5 separate regions of the Homo sapiens genome follow, and regions 1, 2, 3 and 5 are each linked to region 4. The links are contacts of gene promoters, found by promoter capture Hi-C in blood cells and fetal thymus (Javierre and others, 2016). All regions are on one chromosome and are shown on one strand. The core of a region is centred on a gene start or on the middle of the fragment in contact, and the rest is flanking DNA. Distances in the headings are between cores, read along the strand shown. Region 1 holds the start of GPA33-AS1 (GPA33 antisense RNA 1). Region 2 holds the start of STYXL2 (serine/threonine/tyrosine interacting like 2). Region 3 has its middle 25 kb from the start of TADA1. Region 4 holds the start of TMCO1 (transmembrane and coiled-coil domains 1). Region 5 overlaps POGK (pogo transposable element derived with KRAB domain).

What was found. The method cuts DNA at HindIII sites, captures the fragments that hold promoters and counts their contacts. A CHiCAGO score of 5 or more calls a contact.
Region 1: the fragment with the promoter of GPA33-AS1 here is called in contact with the fragment with the promoter of TMCO1 in region 4 in 1 of 17 cell types (M1 macrophages); the score reaches 5.7 in M1 macrophages.
Region 2: the fragment with the promoter of STYXL2 here is called in contact with the fragment with the promoter of TMCO1 in region 4 in 1 of 17 cell types (M0 macrophages); the score reaches 7.0 in M0 macrophages.
Region 3: a contact is called between a fragment that was not itself captured here and the fragment with the promoter of TMCO1 in region 4, in 1 of 17 cell types (M2 macrophages). The highest score is 6.1, in M2 macrophages.
Region 5: a fragment that was not itself captured here is called in contact with the fragment with the promoter of TMCO1 in region 4 in 1 of 17 cell types (M0 macrophages); the score reaches 5.1 in M0 macrophages.

The regions. Positions count from the first base shown.
Region 1 is chr1:167,050,736-167,054,494 of GRCh38, forward strand. GPA33-AS1 (GPA33 antisense RNA 1) reads left to right here and starts at 1,950. Exons shown (of 6, transcript XR_922249.3): 1 at 1,950-2,031. GPA33 (glycoprotein A33) reads right to left here. Exons shown (of 7, transcript NM_005814.3): 7 at 2,101-3,731. The coding sequence ends at 3,599. The HindIII fragment of the contact is 1,060 bases long and covers 999-2,058 here.
Region 2 is chr1:167,091,915-167,095,580 of GRCh38, forward strand. It overlaps STYXL2 (serine/threonine/tyrosine interacting like 2), which reads left to right and starts at 2,161. Exons shown (of 6, transcript NM_001080426.3): 1 at 2,161-2,280; 2 at 2,920-3,045. The coding sequence starts at 2,936. The HindIII fragment of the contact is 6,143 bases long and covers 1-3,666 here.
Region 3 is chr1:166,898,940-166,902,599 of GRCh38, forward strand. It overlaps a transcript of ILDR2 not described here. Among named protein-coding and RNA genes, the nearest start is that of TADA1, 25 kb to the left of the region's middle. RefSeq lists an enhancer at 3,057-3,557. The HindIII fragment of the contact is 4,008 bases long and covers 1-3,660 here.
Region 4 is chr1:165,766,963-165,770,544 of GRCh38, forward strand. TMCO1 (transmembrane and coiled-coil domains 1) reads right to left here and starts at 1,906. Exons shown (of 7, transcript NM_019026.6): 1 at 1,720-1,906; 2 at 1,230-1,307. The coding sequence starts at 1,789. TMCO1-AS1 (TMCO1 antisense RNA 1) reads left to right here and starts at 1,967. Exons shown (of 3, transcript NR_125374.1): 1 at 1,967-2,413. RefSeq lists enhancers at 1,517-2,193, 2,194-2,869. The HindIII fragment of the contact is 3,297 bases long and covers 1-2,376 here.
Region 5 is chr1:166,847,180-166,850,900 of GRCh38, forward strand. It overlaps POGK (pogo transposable element derived with KRAB domain), which reads left to right. Exons shown (of 6, transcript NM_017542.5): 4 at 315-413; 5 at 1,759-3,244. The coding sequence ends at 3,230. Among named protein-coding and RNA genes, the nearest start is that of POGK, 9.6 kb to the left of the region's middle. The HindIII fragment of the contact is 883 bases long and covers 1,433-2,315 here.

The DNA.
Region 1 (3,759 bases), core at 700-3,199, 1.3 Mb after region 4:
CAGCTATAAATAGCAAATTGACATTCTGTGTTGATCCAAATTGCTTAAATTCACTGTGTCTCAGCTTCCTCATCTGTAAAATGGGAAGAATAATAGCACTTATCTCATAGGGTGAAGATTATGAGATGTTCTATGGAAAAGGCCTAGAACAGTACCTGGCCCAGAGCAAGTGCTGCTGCTATAAGCATTGTACATCAGGCACTGTGAGCTTGGTTAATGTGACTCTGCATTTGAGAGCTGAGGCCCTGTCACTGTGTCACAAAAGCAGCTTAAGAACAAGACTTTTTGGGAGGGAGAGCATTAGGACAAATATGTAATGCATGTGGGGCTTAAAACCTAGATGACGGGTAGATAGGTGCACCATGGCACATGTATACATATGTAACAAACCTGCACGTCCTGCACGTGTATCCCAGAACTTAAAGTAAAATTAAAAATAAATAAATAAATAAATAACAAGATCCTGAAGAGTGGCTAATTTACCAAGCTGTGTATCAGTTCATGGATTCCTCTCTGGGCAGCCAGAGTCCCTCCTTAGGTGATAACATGAACACCTAACATTGGCATATGCCCAAGTATTTGAAACTGCGAGTGGGGATTATATGGAAAACTGTCTGAAGTGCCTAATAAGGGTTTATAGTACACAATCTTCCCTCAATTAATGGGTAGCATTTGTCTCTCTTCTAAAACACCATAAAGTCTTTGAACCAGCAGCTGGAAACCATAATTTGGGAAGGGATGCCTAACATTCTAAGGAGACTGCATTGCTGGGCTAATTTTGATTGTATAAGAACCTACAACAGTCCAATTCCCAGAGTCTGTGGACCGAAATAAATTCAGCAGGAAACTGTAGTCTTACTGAGTGATAATATGATTTGACACCCAAGTAATAGAAACATGCATTGGAGGACAGAAGAAATGTCAGCACCAGCCCTTTTCCACTTGTAAAACTCCTCATTCTTCTTCAAGATGCAGCCCAAATGCAACCTCCTCTCTGAAGCTTTCCTGAACTCCCTTAGGCTGAGTTACTCAGGCCCTCCTGTGTCCTGTAGCCCCTTCTCTTGCTCATGTAATTATGTTTCTATGTCTGTGACCGCCATTAGATTTTAGCTCCTCCTGAATAACAGTTTCTTAGTGACTTTTATATACTCTGCAAACAGCACACTGCTTGGCACGTAGTAGATGCTCACAAAATATTTGTTGTTGAATTAATGCAGTGGGTCTCGATTTCCCTCCTTTTCTTCCCTAAGCCTGGAGCTAAGGCAGGTGAACCTTCAGAGTCCTTTGAGGGGCAGAGAGAAGTCAAGTCAAACCTGGGGGAAGGTGGCCGCCTCTGCTTCCGTGGCTCCCTCAAGAACATGCTTGTGGAACCTTGCACCGTGAGGACTGGAAGGCACCTCAGAGTATCTAGAGAGCTAGGAGATGTCCTTGGGCAAGATACTGTGATACCAAATGTTATTCATTTAACAAACCTTTGTCAAGGGTCAACACATGCCAGGCCATAAAGAAGCTACAGTTCCTATCCTTACAAATCATACAGGGTGAGGCAGAGACAGACCTGTACACAGGTATAATAGGCACACAGTACTGTGTGACAAGTGCTCGGACAGGAGGGAGCACAGGAAAGGACACTGAAGAACAGACCTTGAATATCTCGCAGGAGAGTCCATGTCAAAGCCAAGAGCCCACAGCGGAGCGAAGTTGCCTTGGAGGAGGAAGCGTCACAGTTCTCTGTGACAGAACAAGAGGACTGCCCCGCCCCTTTCTCAGAAGGGGCATCATAGGAAGCAGAACTGGCTAGAGCATCTCCACCATCTTCCTTCAAGCACGTGGACCGACACCCAGGCCTCCTGGTGTCCTGACACTGCAGACTCCTGGAATATACCTCCACCAGCAGGCAGGAATCTGTCCTATTCCCAGCAACCACTAGAGGCACTGCCTGACCCTACTGCGGCCACAAGCAGAGGGACCCCAGGATTCTCAAATCTGTTACCTTGTCTCACCTCCCCTAGGAAGCAGAAGAGTGCTATGGTGAGTAGAGATGATCCATGAGACCCAAGCTTTATCTTACTGCAAACAAAATCCACATTAAAAAAGAAATAAGAATTTCCACCCACAATTTTATTATTACTGAAAGCATTTGGAATGAAGCAAAGGATTTAACAATATATATAAAAATATACATTTTTTAAAAAATCGCAAGTAGACAATAGATTTATGGAATTATTTTTCTGATCATCCAGAAAAGATAGCAATAGTAAACTGCAGTTGGGTGAGACCAGCCACTGGTCCATGAGACCTAAGCAGCCCTAACGCTGCCTGAGCTCTCAAGAGTAGAAGAAATGCTCGACAAACAGAAGGAGGCTGTGGGAGGGCAGCAGGACAGCCCCACCAGAAAACCAGAGCCCAAATGGGCTGGGCAGGGCCAGGGCTGAGGTATCGGGATGCAGGAACAACCAGGAACCCCATGTGGGTTGAGGAGACATGCCAATTATTCTGGCCTGGAGAGGAATTACCAGGACACAAGAACTCAGACCATCTGCAAGCAAGCTCCCTTGTGTGTGTTCACTTTAAATCAATTCGTGTTTAACTCACTGAATGAATACGTGGGTTTGGGTGGGAATCATCCCTGTGTCTACGATCATCTCAAGGAGACCAGAGAAGGGAAGGCACAACCAATCAAAGCAGTTTCCCCAATTAAGCTTAAGTGCCCACTAGGATGGGCGCCAGCTACTAGGGCTTCAGGGAAAGCAAAAGCCATGAGGCCCAGGCCCTGCCCCAAGGAGCTGGCGCTCTAATACAGTGAGAGCACTCGCTCAGAAGACTGTGCCTTGTGGCCCATGATTGGACGTGGGACAGAGTAACAGGATTGTTTCCACGTATGTGGACAATTAGGATAGGGTTAGAGAAATCCTTGTGATTTGAGATGGGCCTGGAGGGACAGGTACGATATTGACAGGCAGAGATGGAAAGTGTGTGGGCAAAAGCTCCCCAGGGCCTGTGCAGCAGGAGTGGGAGGTGGCCTTCCCAGGAGGGTTTGGAACATACTGGCAGCTACGGGAAGTGAGGTTGGAAAGGGAGTGGGAGCTGGAGGCCAGGCCAATGCAGGGCCCAAGCATACTCACTTATTCTTTCATTCATTCAAGAAAGATGTGTGGAGTGCAAACCCTCCACCTGGTGCCCCTCCAGGTGCTGGGCACACAGGTGAGCAGGACAGCCCCCACCCCCCAAGGCTGGCATCGCCTCCCTGGAGAGTTCTGAGTGGGAGCGCCCCATGCTCAGCGCTGTGCTTCCAGGAGCTCCTGCCAACTACGAGGGAAGTGGAGGCTGCAGCCTGGTCTTGAGTGAGGGCCAGGCCCGCACCAGGTGTCACAGCCAGGAGGGGTTACTTCACAGGACAGTGAGGTCAGCAGGATCAGCACAGGGACCCCCTTACCAGGCCAGCCATGTTCCCCACAGCTGACACTGGGGAAGAAATGTCCCCATCAATGTCTGGGATGGAGGGACAGGAGAACAGGGCTTAGAAAGGAGAAGGGAGGCCAGGAAGCGGGAGAATGAACCCCTAACCCTTCCTCCGCCGCCCTCTGCTGCTGGCCTGTCACTGGTCGAGGTGGTCCGGGGATTCACGCCCAGTGCTCCTCTGCTCTTCTTGCCTGTAGTCATCCTCCTCCTCCCTCTCTCTGGAAAGTTCTCTTAGCTGCTCTGGTGGCTCCTCATAGGCTTCCCGGTTCCTGCAGGGCAGCAGGGGACAGAGGGGAA
Region 2 (3,666 bases), core at 911-3,410, 1.3 Mb after region 4:
GTGAAATTGAAAATCTTTTAATATAGTTGCACATCATATATATTTTCTTTTCTGAGACTAGGTAGCTCATTTGCCCGTATTTCTTTTTTTAATAAATTTTTAAAAATATAGACACAGAATCTCGCTACGTTGACCAGGCTGGTCTTGAATTCCTGGGCTCAAGCAATCCTGCCTCAGTCTCCCAAAATGCTGGGATTACAGGCATGAGCCACCACGTCCAGCCGTTTGGCCATATTTCTATTGAGCTGTTGATCTTTAGCTTGTTGACTTCTAGCAGATCTTTGTATATTAGGGAAAGGAACTTTTGGATGTGATAAGCATTGCAAATATTTCCCCTAGCATTTCTTTGTGTTATGAATTCATAGTATCCTACATGACTTATTGTTATTAATCCTTTTGACTGCTAGGTTTGGTTGACATACAAAATTTGTTGTTTTCTGTTTATTACATTTCACTCAGGCACCTTGTTAATTCTCTTATTATATGTAATAATTGTTCAGCCCCAACATTTTATAATATCTTTGCCAAATTAGTCTTCCTAATTACTTGTCTGCTTGGGTCCTATCACTGACTCTGCAGAACCTAACAAATTAGCTTTTAAGGTATTCTAGCATTTGTTCTCAAACACAGTCTACCTTCCAGAATACGTAATTTATGCTCTGACCAAGTTAGACATATTTTCATACCCAGAACTCATACTTCCTTACCCCCAAAACTTTATTGATGCCACCCCCTCGGTAATTCCCTTCCCCTACTATATCTGCTATTATAATCTTACTTGTCCTTTAGAAGTCAGCTCATATATCACCACTGCTTCTATGAAGTCTTTCCTGATTTCTTCAGTCAGAAGGGCTCTTTCTCACCTTTGAACTCACACAGCACTCTGGATCTCTTTTAGGACACTAACTACATTCTCTCTTATGCTTGAGTTATTTTTGGTCTGTGTCTCATTCCTCCTAATAAACAGTGAGCTCATTCATTCAGCCATTTCTAATGATACGATATACCAGGCATCATTCCACCTAACTAGGAAGAAAGACAACTTTAAGCTATGTGTTTTGCCAATTTTGGTCAAGTAAAGTGTCATATGTAGTAGGTAATCAATGAATATTTTAAGTTGGTAAATGGATGGATAAATGGATGAAAGGATGACTATGGTATGTGTGGGATGAGAGGTGTGGGCTATTTGGCTTTGCTTTGATCATTGTGATGGTAGAGGGGTTAGTAGGGTAAGACAGCTTATTTGACATTTATGAAGCTCATGGAATTCTTAAGTCACCCAGGGTTGCCAATCCATTATCACCTTGGGGTGTGAGTAGAGGGGAGGAAATGTGGAGGGTGAGCACAACTGTCCAGTTGACCATCCTGAGACATGTCTATTAAAAGAAATGCAGGCAGGGCACGGTGGCTCACACCTGTAATCCCAGCACTTTGGTGGACGGAGGTGGATGGATCACTTCAGCCCAGGAGCTCGAGACCAGCCTGGGCAACACAGTGAGACCCCATCTCTACAAAAAATTTAAAAATTATCTGGGTGTGGTGGCATGTGCCTGTACTCCCAGCTACTCAGGAGGCTGAGGTGGGAGAATCACCTGACCCTGAGAGGTTGAGGCCGCAGTGAGCTGTGATGGCACCACTGCACTTTCACCAGGGCAACAGAGCGAGACCCTGTCTAAAAAAAAAGAAAAAGAAATGTAATCCTGGTCACAAGCAATGACTACTCTTTAATTGTACCACAGTGCTCTCCCAATATCTATCTGTTGAGTACCCTTTCCATTCTATATATCTGGTCCTTTTTTTAGGCCTCTCTAGTTGACATGCGGCTGTGGTAAGTTTGTTTATTCTTCTATATCTTTGGATTTAGACTCTCTTCTGGAAGAACTTTGAATAGGCTGTCCCAGGCAAGAGGGTCTGAAGAGAGAACCCAGAGAAAAGCTGTTCTTTAGATTCTCCATCTACCAAGCACAAACGTCTTCCAATTCTGCTGCTAAATGTAAGCGTCTGGAGAATCAGCCAGGAGGGAAAGAGTTAAGTGAGGACTGCTTTGGGGCCTGGGTCCAGAGCCTGCATTCCTTCCTCCCAGAAATCTGCCAGCCTATGGGGCCAGAGGCTAAATTTAGAGGGTGGCTAAGGTTTCCTGTTAACAGCTGTCCTGCCCCTAGGAGAAGAAGCCCTGAGGAAGGAGGTGGCTGGTTCCTGTCTCACTGGCCGGAGCTTCAGCTTCAGTCATTTCATCTGGGTCCCTCAGCCCTTGGTGGGGAACATCCAGGCAGGTTAGAGGTGAGTGTGCTTCTCCCCTTGTCAATCCTGGTGAGCCCAGGACTTACAATACAAGGGGCAGCGGCTTTGCCCTGAGTGTCAGGGCACAACCATGATGGCTGGGACCAGCTGCTGGTATCCTTCATGTCCTTTAATAGGCTCCAGGATGACGCCTGAGCCAAAGGCCCTACCTCCTGTGGCCTTGGTTAGAGACACCGAAGGCCAGCTGTGTCTTCCCCAGCAGAGACAAAGGTGTGCGCATGGGCATAGGTGAGGGGCGTGTGTGTATGCACATCCTATAATTTCAACTGAAAAATCTTGCTGGTCCAGGGAAGTCATTGTTCTTCAACTTTTTGAGCTGAGATCAGGTAACCTGCTGGCTCCTCTGCCTGCTCCCTTGCTGACATCTGTGGAAGGAGCCACACTGGCACTTCAATATTGTCACTTCAAGGTGGGCTCCTAATATGGCGGGGTGCACTTCTTGGTGTCCCGGTAACAGTGGCTGGGCCAGGTCTGACTGGATATTCCTTGCTGGTCTTTTGCCCACCGGGACCTTCCTAGTCCTAGTTCCACTGAGGTGACATCACCAACACAACTTCTCCCCCAACAAAACCTCAGGAACCTAATTCCCTAACTGCCTTTTTCTTGCCAAACTTTCAGAGGTTGGCAGGTTGTCATGGCGACCAGAAAGGACACAGAGGAGGAGCAGGTAGTCCCAAGCGAGGAGGACGAAGCCAACGTGAGGGCGGTGCAGGCCCACTACCTCCGAAGCCCCTCCCCTAGCCAGTAAGTGACCACTTATCTCCCACCCTCACAGCCCCAGCTGGGAGGGGCTGGGGACAGGTTGGGCCATTAGCTCCAGGGAGCCTGCAGCCATCACCTCGGTTCACTCATTTAACAAATATTATTGAGTACTTGTATGTGTCCTACTTTCTGGAGGAGGTAAATATGCAAATAGACTGATTGCAATGTGGCAGGTGTGTGCTAGATATTAATATGACCAGGATCTAGTATGTGGTGGACTAGACAATAGGGAAGGGAACAACTGGACTTGGAAGGTCATAGGAGGCTTGGCTGGAAGAGATGATGATGGACCCGAACCTCAGAGGATGAGTAGGAATTTGGCCCTGCTTGATTCAGTAGGACTGGGGCTGGATATGGGGATGACAGGCCGTAGACTATAAGAAAAGGGATGAGGAGAGGAGAAGCCCATGGAAGCATTCCCTAGCACTAAAATAATTTTTTATCCATAATCAAGCTGTGTCTTTTAAACTGGGACATGTGCATGCCTGGGGCAAGTGGCAAGATGCCAAGAGGCATGAGGCATCTTCCTGGAGAGTCCTCTTTTTACCACAAGTAATTTGAAACTTTCTTTTACATTAAAATCATCGACGTTATGTTATCATG
Region 3 (3,660 bases), core at 440-2,939, 1.1 Mb after region 4:
GTCCCAACAACTTTGGAGGCTGAGGTGGGAGAATCCCTTGAGCCTGGGAGGTAAAATCTGCAGTGAGCCATGATTGCCCCACTGCATTTCAGCCTGGGTGACAACGCAAGACCCTTCTCTCAAAAAGCCAATAATTATGATAATAATAAAAAGATGAAAAAGACATGATTGGCCGGGCGCAATGGCTCACGCCTGTAATCCCAGCACTTTAGGAGGCCAAGGCAGGTGGATCACCTGAGGTCTAGGAGTTTGAGACCAGCCTGACCAATATGGTGAAACTCCGTCTCTACTAAAAATACAAAAATTGGCCGGGCATAGTGGTGGGCACCTGTAGTCCCAGCTACTTGGGAGGCTGAGACAGGAGACTTGCTTGAACCTGGGAGGCAGAGGTTGCAATGAGCCGAGATCGTGCCACTGCACTCCAGCCTGGGTGACAGAATGAGACTCCATCTCAAAAAAAAAAAAAAGAAAAGAAAAGAAAAAGAAAAAGACACGATTGCTATCCTCAAGGAGTTTACAGTCTGGGGGAATTTGAACATACACGTGCTAACCAAATTCTTTGGTTATGTGATTGTGTAAGCTGTAATTGAGTGTAATCTATTTCACTTTACAAGCTGACAGGAGTTAGCAGATTTAAGATGAGCCATGGGCCTTTTTGCTGTCCTCTCAAGAACTTGTTCATAGAAAAAGCTGGATTTCAGAAAATCAAATATTTCTTCATGTTTTATGGCTCAGTTGATACCAAACATTCAAGCATTTAGATCTGCTTTTAAAATCATTTCAAAATATGTATATATTAGCTTTTTTCAATACAACCCTTCTTCTCCTTGCTCTGGTACTTATGTGAATATCTACAAGAGGGCTAGGGGAAGATGAAGAATTATTTTGGGACAAGCTCCATGAGAGCAGAATGCAAACAGATCTGTAAGAGTTCCAAAGATGGCTACATAGGTCAAAGGACAATGCAAGGATTGGCTCTACTCCCTTGATACTTTGAGTCATTTAAAATCCAGCACAGTTGATGTCATCTGGGAGGCTGCTAGAAATGCAGAATCTCAGGCCCCACCTAAATTGTGCTGAATCCTAATTTGTACTTTCAACAAGACACCCAGGTCATTCAAATGTCAGTATATATCTCTCTCCAAAGTTCCACACTCAGGTCAGCCTCCCAGCCTCTCTTCTCTCTATTGCTACCCTTTCATGACCCCCATGGCAGCCTCCTTCTCTCTATTGCTATCCTTTCATGCCCTCCACAGCAGGCTCCTTCTCTCTATTGCTACCCTTTCATGCTCCCCCCACCCCCATGGCAGCCTCCTTCTCTCTATTGCCATCTTTCATGCCCTCCACCCCAGGCCTGTCTCACCCATCGCCCTCTTCAAAAACCCTGAGTTGTTCATGTCTGTCCCTTTTCCATTTCCCACTATTCTTTTGCTCTCTGATGTCTTTTCTCACAAGCATCCTACCCCCACAAATAAAACATTTCATCTCATTGCACACACTTTGAGATTGCCATAGATAACAAATGCAACAGATATTGAAAAGGTAAAATCAACAGGACTCAGTAATTGCTTGGATAATTACAATATTCTCTAATATTAATTTCTTTCTATGAAGCAGATAGGGTTGTTATCCATATTCAAAGATGGGTAAACCACAGCTCAGAAAGGCTACATAACTTGTTTAATTCACAGACCTGGAAAGTGGCAAAGACGGGATTTGAATTCAGGAGGTCTGACTCTGGGACTTGGACATTTGACTCCTGTACTGGTGTGAGAAAGTAAGAGAAGTCTGTGATGATTCCTAGGACTTATATTAATTACCTGCAGTTGATGAGGCCACCAACAGAAGTAGAAAAAATAGATGAAAGTGTAGAGCTTTTGTTTTGTGGGGTGGTATGGGTAGTTCTAAGTTACCGTTACTTTTATATTAAAACTCCAGTTTATTTCTAAGGTTAAATGAAAAATTGCTTGCTTTGGATTTTCCCACCTTCTCCATTCGACTTTTGTAACAATTTACTCTGATGTTTAAAATCCCTAGACCAAGCTCTTCCTGAAGGAATACAAGATGACAGGTGGAGCACACCAAAAGCACATTCAAAAGCAGAAGCAAAGCCCCAATAGCTTTATAGCTTTGCCTGGTCTCTTTGGTCACCTTCCATTTTTAGCAATCAGAGTTGGTGGCCTGGAAGTATAGTCTGTGGCTACAAGGGGCTCACACTCTGTATATCTAACACAAACTAATTGAGCATGCCTCAAATGCTCCACATTCCCCGAGTTTCTCAGGTTCTTGGCAGCAACAACAACGATTGAAAATAAACTCTGCTCCCTTCCTCTTGGGGGAGAACAGATGGCCGGATCCCCATCAACCTTACAATCACTAGGTCCCTCGGGGTTATTACAAACATTAACTAAGAACTTCTCCTACAGCTCATCTCCATGGCCAACTATGAACAGCTTTTGAACAAGTTCCTTATTCATAGAATGACAAGCAAGAAAGCCCCCCAACCAGAGAATCTGTCTGCCTGGAGAGCAGGTGAGGCTTTGACACCAAGACATTATTCTTGCTGGTCCTCTCCTCTTCCCTCCCTCATCCTGAACCAAGGCTCCTTTTGCCCTCAATGGCACTGTCCCAATTTGTTTTTTTTATATTCAAGGGCTGATTTCTCAAATGTTATAGACGTGACTTCCAAAAGGGAGACAGTTTTAGAATCTTCTGTGATCATTCTCTCACAGGCCAAAAGACTGGATTTCTAAAACACAAAAACCAGGGCCAGCAGGGTTTTATTTTTCTGCCTTCTTCCCTAGTTCCCCCACAAGGCTGCTTAGTCTCATTGGTTGCAGACAGATATCTGTGTTAACAAAATACAGCCACTGACATTCACATTACCTCATCCATGCAGCAGTTTTGTCGTATGGGTCCCTTTGATATTAGGAGTGACCTTCCTCCTTGGTGCCAGAGAGATTTTAGCTGGAGTGCAGTGGCGTGATCTCGGCTCACTGCAACCTCCGCCTCCCGGGTTCAGGCGATTCTCCCGCCTCAGCCTCCCGAGTAGCAGGGATTACAGGCATGTGCCAGCATGCCCGGCTAATTTTTCATTTTTAGTAGATATGAGGTTTCTCCATGTTGGTCAGGCCGGTCTCAAACTCCCGACCTCAGGTGATACACCCGCCTTGGCCTCCCAAAGTGCTGGGATTAGAGGCATGAGCCACCAGGCCCAGCCAGTTTCTTTCTTTTGACAGATGCAAAAGTCTCTCTTTTTCTGTGAGATCCTGGACCTCCTCTGTCTGCCAAGGCTGCACATGTCTCTCTCCCCACTTTACAGATTAGGAAGAAGAAATAAAAAGCTAAAGTGCATAACATAAACTCTGAATCAACCCTTCTTCCTGTCCTTCCCAACAGAACCTGAATTTGCCTGGGTGTCATATACTGCCCTCTATGCAACAGCTATGACTCAGAGAGCAGTAACTCCAGGCCTATTCCTTATTCATCTAAGCCAATCAGAGGGCAGTAACTCCAAGCCTATTCCTTATTCATCTAAGCCAATCAGAACATGACAAGCTAAGTCAGAAAGTTCAGGCTACAAAGACTTGTATTATATAATTAGAGAAATGACTTCTCTCTTCCTTGTTGGAGGTGAGTGAGGAAACACATTGTCTCAGT
Region 4 (3,582 bases), core at 656-3,155:
TTTGGCCCAGATATGCTGAGGTACATAATCAACACTGAGTAAATTAAGGAACAGTAAGCTGTAATTTTAAAAGCCTGAGTCTGGTCTCTAATTCTTTGTTTGCTCTGTGACGTAAGTTGTCATTATCATCCTGAGGCTCAATTTTCTTTCCTATGACATGGAGGTAATATTTATACGAGTAACCACAAATGGTTGCTGTGTAGATCAAATATGGTAATTTAAGAAAAAAAACTTCAAACCCCTATGAAGATATAAGAAAAAGTCACAGAATACAGAAAGTTGTAGGAATTCTAAGAAACAAAAGTTATATTTAATCCTTATAAGGAAAAAAAGAAGAGAGAAAACTAAATCAGGCCTATAAGGAACCATTCACCCTGTACCTTTAGCTGAGTCCTGTGGAATTCCTGCTTTATTTCAAAGGTAACAAACCCTTCTTGTTTTTAATCTTTTCCTTAAACACCTCTTCAACTTTCTAACCCAACTGAAACTCGGCTTATCTCTGAAGACACCACTTACCTTGACACCAGTCATAATGACATATCATCCTCCAAACATGCCTTAAATGTTAAGATTTCCATATTTTTGCTCATATGTTATTTCTTTACCTGGAATTTCCTTTCCCCATTTCATTCTCTATCCAAATTCTAACTATCCACAAGGAACTGCAAGGCCATCAGCATCATGAAGGCTACCATGGTTCCTCACAACTGAATGAAGCCTCTTCTTCTTTTTTTTTTAAAGACAAGTCTCACTATTGCCCAGGAGGCAGTGTAGTGACACCATCGTGGCCCACTGTAGCCTCAATCTCCTGGGCTCAAGGGATCCTCATGCCTCAGTCTCCCAAATAGCTGGGACTATAGGTGTGTACCACCATACCCAGCTAATTTTTTCTGTAGGGACGAGGTCTCCCTATGTTGCCCAGGCTGGTGTCAAACCCCTAAGTTCAGTCCTGCCTCAGCCTTCCAAAGTGCTGGGATTAACAGGAGTAAGCCACTGCGCCAGATTGAACCTCTTCTTTAGAACCACCACAGCACATAACATGTATCTGCTACGCCCCTCACTTCCCTCTAGTTGGTATTACACATTTTGCATAAAAGTCTTCTATTTCTAAATAGGCTTCAAGTCAGGTTCATCTTTGTATCAGCTGGTGCTCTTAAAATATTTATTGTGAACATGGACTTAATGAGCTTGACGTGTTGAAATTATTTCTAATGTGTTGCCATACTCACATTTTTTACTCTGTTTTTCCACTTCTGCCTTCAGTCTCTTGTACTTGTCTGTCCTGTAAACCAGGACCCAGGTTATGCCTAAAACATTAAAAGCAACATGTTAATAGAGAAATGACTGGAATGATCACAACAAACAAAGTGGTTACTGTTGGAGAAGGAGGAATTCCAACTTTTCGCTTTGTATTTACCCATAGTTAACTTTTTTCAAAGGCTAATACAACTGACTCTTCAGCCAAAACAACAGTAACATGATGTGAAGGTGTCTCCACAAATACCCAAGTGAAATCTACCTGAGACCAAAGAAAACTCGGCAATCGACTCCATACTCCCCTCCTGCTCCTGTTCACGAGTTGCCCAGAGATTCCCTGAAGTGGAGTAGATGAGCCTCTCAAGCAAGTAAGGCTCGCGATCTTTCCCCTGGTGGCACAGGGGACCCCGGGGCCCTTCCTCCCGGGGACTGATCAAACGTCTGAGAAATACCCGCTCTCACCCTCTGCGAGCAGAGCCGTGCACACAGAGATAAAAACGATGAGGAGAGTGTCCGCGAACATAGTGCTCATCTCGCACCTTCGTCTCTGCACTCTCACCCGCCAGGGGGAAAGCGCTCTACAGCCAGGAAAAGTGAAGCGAAAACGGCTTCCGTAGACTCCGCCACCACCGAGTAACAGACCAACTCTGACAGCCCGAAGATCGCACTTCCGCTTCCGGGGCATAGCACCGGAAAGGCTCGTATCGGAGAACGGTGTGGCCACGAGAGTCTAGAGGAAACCAACCCGCAACTCACTGGAGCTGAAGGGCTGGTAGTCAGGCCGAATCTCGCGAGAATTGGAACTATTTCAGAGCCAGAGGAGGATAGTGGCGGCGGCGAACTTTGCCCGGTAGATTTTACTGACTGGGGTGCTGGCGCGCGCCTTTTTCTCGGCCAGAATCCAGTTATTGGGATAGTCTTGACTTCTACCTCAGCCCAACTTCTGTGGTCGTAATATTAGTTTAGCTTGGGTTTGCCGTGAAGTAAGAAGACTGACTTCCGCAAAGGTACTGAACGACTGGGTGTAGGTGCCAGGGCATGGACGTGAAGCTGGAACCGCGAAATGAGTTAGTTGTGGGCCGCTGGCCTCAAGGAGCGAACGTCAGCGCGAAGAGGAGAAGCTTGTGCATACGCTCTGATAAGGGTTTTAATAGAGGTATTACCACAGTGCTGCGTGACACGGTTGAGAGAGTGGTCAGAAGAAGCTAATGAAAGGAATTGAAGCAGTGCCTTAGGGGAGTAGGAGTACTTTTGGAGATAGCAAAGGACTTTCTAGGCAAAGTGGAAGTCAAAGCACGGATGCCTGAAAATTCATAGTGTGATAGTGCAGTGAGTAATGTATCTAGAGAAGGGGTCTTAAACCCAGATGCCTAGACTGGCGAGAGAAAATAAATTATCTTATGCAAGCTGAGCCTAAACAAATGGTGGAAGTTACTACGATGGATAAGTGAGCATTAAGTTCATCTGAAAGGAGAATTTGATACCCAAATCCAACCCATTTCTCTAGGAGAATGAGCACCCAGTTTCTGAGATGTCTTCGTTTCTCAGGAAAATCCAGAAATCCTGGGTTTTATGTGAAACTTAATTTATAAGTGTTGCTAACTAATTAAAATTCAAAAATGTCTCAGCAGCGTGGTTTCAGCCATTGTAGACGGTTTCAGCTTTTTCACACTGGGGTGTGTGTGTGTATGGGTGAAAACCTGGAAGCTGGCTGAGCTGTATCCTCTTGTACTTCCTCCTATCATTGGTGTTTTTTTGTTTGTTTGAGATGGAGTTTCACTCTTGTTGCCCAGGTGGAGTGCAATGGCACAATCTCGGCTCACTGCAACCTCTGCCTCCGGGTTCAAGCCATTCTCCTGCCTCAGCCTCCCAAGTAGCTGGGACTACAGGTGCCCGTCCCCACGCCCAGCTAATTTTTTGTATTTTTAGTAGAGACGGGGTTTTGCCATGTTGGCCAGGCTGGTCTTGAACTCCTGACCTCAGATCCACCCACTTCGGCCTCCCAAAGTGCTGGGAATACAGGCGTGAGCCACCGTGGCCGGCCCTCATTGGTTCTTTTAAACTGTACTGCACTTAAATATATAATTCTCCTAAACACTACTTTTGACTTTTTTTTAGCTTTATGTGCATTTCTTGTCTCCCAGACTTAGCAACAGAGACCCTGTCTCCTTTTTAAGAAACATTATTGAGCTTCTACTATATGTCAAGAACTGTGGTAGGCACTGTAGGGTCAAAAGGATGGTTAAGAGAATATTCCTGACTTCTAAGGGCCCAGGGAGATTATATAATATAATAAGATTATAGGTATTATAGAGGTATTCTTAA
Region 5 (3,721 bases), core at 624-3,123, 1.1 Mb after region 4:
GAAGAGATTTCCCAGTTTGCTTATACAGGTACCAAAATGTTAATTGGATCAGCAGCTGCATTCACCCTTCTCCCTGCTAAATGCAGTTCTTTTATTGTTGGTGCCAATACCATCCCTCATTAGGAGAGATCTACCCATTCCTTTAGACAGACCTATTTTCCATTATCTTTTTTCTTTAAGTATCCCTGAGCCTTTTTCCCCTTGTTTTTCACAAAGAAGGGGAGAGTGGCTCTTAAGTATTTTGAAGTACTTATTTTGGTAGTGCTCCAGGACAGTAACACACAGCTGTTACCTATTTTATTTCCTATAAACAGAATTCCCATTCCCTAAGCCAGACATGATCACCCGTTTGGAAGGGGAGGAGGAGTCTCAGAATTCTGACGAGTGGCAGCTCCAAGGAGGCACCTCTGCAGGTACTACAAGTAAAGCAGTTCAGCGTCCATCCAGCTGGGAACATTGTGGAGTGGGATTTTCAGTGTACATTCCACGGGGTATTTAAGAGGTAGAAGGATTATGGGTTTTGGAGTTTTGAAATCTCCCTCTTTGCAGTGCTAAATGTGTGACAGTGTGTGACAGGCAACTGCTTTTACCTCAGAGCTTCCATTCTTCCTCTATCAGCTCTGAGTAACAAGACTTGATGTATGACCTTGTTTGTGGATGAAGCAAAATGAGGCTTGTGCAGCATTTGGTCTAGTGCACCTTCTGGCTGAACAGGGCTCCCTCAGTGGCGTACCATGTGCCTCTGCAAACTAAGAATAGTGAGAGGAAGCACACTTCCTGAGTTACCTGGCTCCCTGTCCATCTCATACTGGATAGAAAAAGCAATAGCAATCATAGCATACATTTGAGCAAATGTATCTAAGAAGTACCTAGTCCTTTGTCAAGAAAAATGGTTATTGAGGCCACAGTTGAATAAATATAGCATTGCCTCCAGACGGCCAAAATAGTTTTATCTTTTCTCCGGAAGTAAGAGTTTAAAATGCCATATTTCACTGACTCTGAGACATGTTTTTCTCCCATTGCTTTACTGTTTCTGAAATTGAGAATGCCTCTTAAAATCAGTGGCATGTCATAGCTTAATTAGTAGTGTTTTCTTTCTTAATGGCACATAATGATGCATCCTACAACTGATGACATTTTAGTTTGGGTGAGATAGGGTAATTTCCCCAAATCATATTCAACTTCTGTGACCACCTTCTAAATATAAAGTGAAACCTGGTTGCACCATTAATGTGCAAGAACTAATTTTCTGCCTTATAAGCTTAACTTTGCTAAGTGTGGTTTTTGCTGTAGGTTTTCTTGGTTCTAAAGGGATATGATTCAGGCCATGATGCATCTCTGTAATATTATATGGTAGTATGGTTAACATTTGGCTTCTCATTCACATAAAAAGTATTTTGATGCAAACATGGCCCCCAAATTATTTGGTCCAAGCTTGGTTCCTCTGTTGAGTTCCCAGCTCTGCCACTTTCTGGCTTGGCTACCTTGGTGCATTATGTAACCTCTGTAGCCTCCCCTTCTTCATCTGCAAAGAAGGAACAGTGATACTTAGAGTTACTCTATTAAGAGAACTAGGTGTGGGTAGTCCACATAAATTGGCATATGGAAAAGGACTTAGGCAATGTTACCTGTTATTAAAGTTACTACTTTTGGTGAACTTCAGATTAAGGTATTCTTAGCATTTCAACCCCCAAAAATCAGGGTATAAGCCATTTTACTTACTGGCATTATTTTTGCCCCTCACTATTTGTCTCCCAGAAAATGAAGAATCTGACGTAAAGCCTCCAGACTGGCCAAACCCAATGAATGCTACCTCCCAGTTTCCTCAGCCTCAGCACTTTGACAGCTTTGGCCTCCGTCTGCCTCGGGATATCACAGAGCTGCCCGAGTGGAGTGAGGGGTACCCCTTCTACATGGCCATGGGCTTCCCAGGGTATGACCTCTCGGCTGATGACATAGCTGGGAAGTTTCAGTTCAGCCGGGGCATGCGCCGCAGTTACGACGCAGGGTTCAAGCTGATGGTAGTGGAATATGCTGAGAGTACCAACAACTGCCAGGCTGCCAAGCAGTTTGGAGTATTGGAAAAAAACGTTCGAGACTGGCGCAAAGTGAAGCCACAGCTTCAAAACGCCCACGCCATGCGGCGGGCATTCCGAGGCCCCAAGAATGGGAGGTTTGCTCTGGTGGACCAGCGTGTGGCCGAATATGTCAGATACATGCAGGCCAAAGGGGACCCCATCACCCGGGAGGCGATGCAGCTGAAAGCTCTCGAAATCGCCCAGGAAATGAACATTCCAGAGAAAGGGTTCAAGGCAAGCTTGGGTTGGTGTCGAAGAATGATGAGAAGGTATGACCTGTCTCTGAGGCATAAAGTGCCCGTGCCCCAGCACCTGCCGGAAGACCTGACTGAGAAACTCGTCACTTACCAGCGCAGTGTCCTGGCTCTGCGCAGGGCGCATGACTATGAGGTAGCTCAGATGGGGAATGCAGATGAGACGCCCATTTGTTTAGAGGTGCCATCACGGGTAACTGTTGATAACCAGGGCGAAAAGCCTGTCTTGGTCAAGACACCAGGCAGGGAAAAACTGAAAATCACAGCAATGCTTGGTGTCTTGGCTGATGGGAGGAAGTTACCACCGTACATCATTTTGAGGGGAACATATATCCCCCCGGGGAAGTTTCCCAGTGGGATGGAAATTCGCTGCCACCGGTATGGGTGGATGACTGAAGACTTGATGCAGGACTGGTTGGAAGTGGTGTGGAGACGGAGGACAGGAGCAGTGCCCAAGCAGCGAGGGATGCTGATCTTGAATGGCTTCCGGGGCCATGCCACAGATTCCGTGAAGAACTCCATGGAAAGCATGAACACTGACATGGTGATCATCCCAGGGGGTCTGACCTCACAGCTTCAGGTGCTGGATGTCGTGGTCTACAAGCCACTGAATGACAGTGTGCGGGCCCAGTACTCCAACTGGCTTCTGGCTGGGAACCTGGCGCTGAGCCCAACCGGGAATGCTAAGAAGCCACCCCTGGGCCTCTTTCTGGAGTGGGTCATGGTCGCGTGGAATAGCATCTCAAGTGAGTCCATCGTCCAAGGGTTCAAGAAGTGCCATATCTCCAGCAACTTGGAGGAGGAAGACGATGTCCTGTGGGAAATCGAGAGTGAGTTGCCAGGAGGAGGAGAACCACCAAAAGATTGTGACACCGAAAGCATGGCTGAGAGCAACTGAAGGGAAAGGGAAAGGTAACCACTCAGGAGTAGATACTCAGTGCCTTTGCTGACATGTCTGTGTTCTACAAACACCTTCTCTCCATTATTTTTCTGTTTTTAAGTTCCCTTAGAGCCTACAGTGCAGTAGTGTAGATCAGGGGTCCCCAACCCCCAGGTCACGGACCATACTGGTCCATGGCCTGTCAGGAACTGGGCTGCACAGCAGGAGGTGAGCGGCAGGTGAGCAAGCATTACCACCTGAGCTCCGCCCGCTGTCACAGCAGCGGCATTAGATTCTCATAGGAGCACAAACCCTGTTGTGAACTGCACATGTGAGGGATCTAGGTTGCAGGCTCCTCAATGCCTGAGGATCTGAGGCGGAACAGTTTCATCCCAAAGCCATCCTACCACCCACTACCCCGCACTTCCTGGGTCCCTGCAAAAATTGTCTTCCATGAAACCAGTCCCTGGTGCCAGAAAAGTTGGGGACTGCTGGTATAGATAACAGAC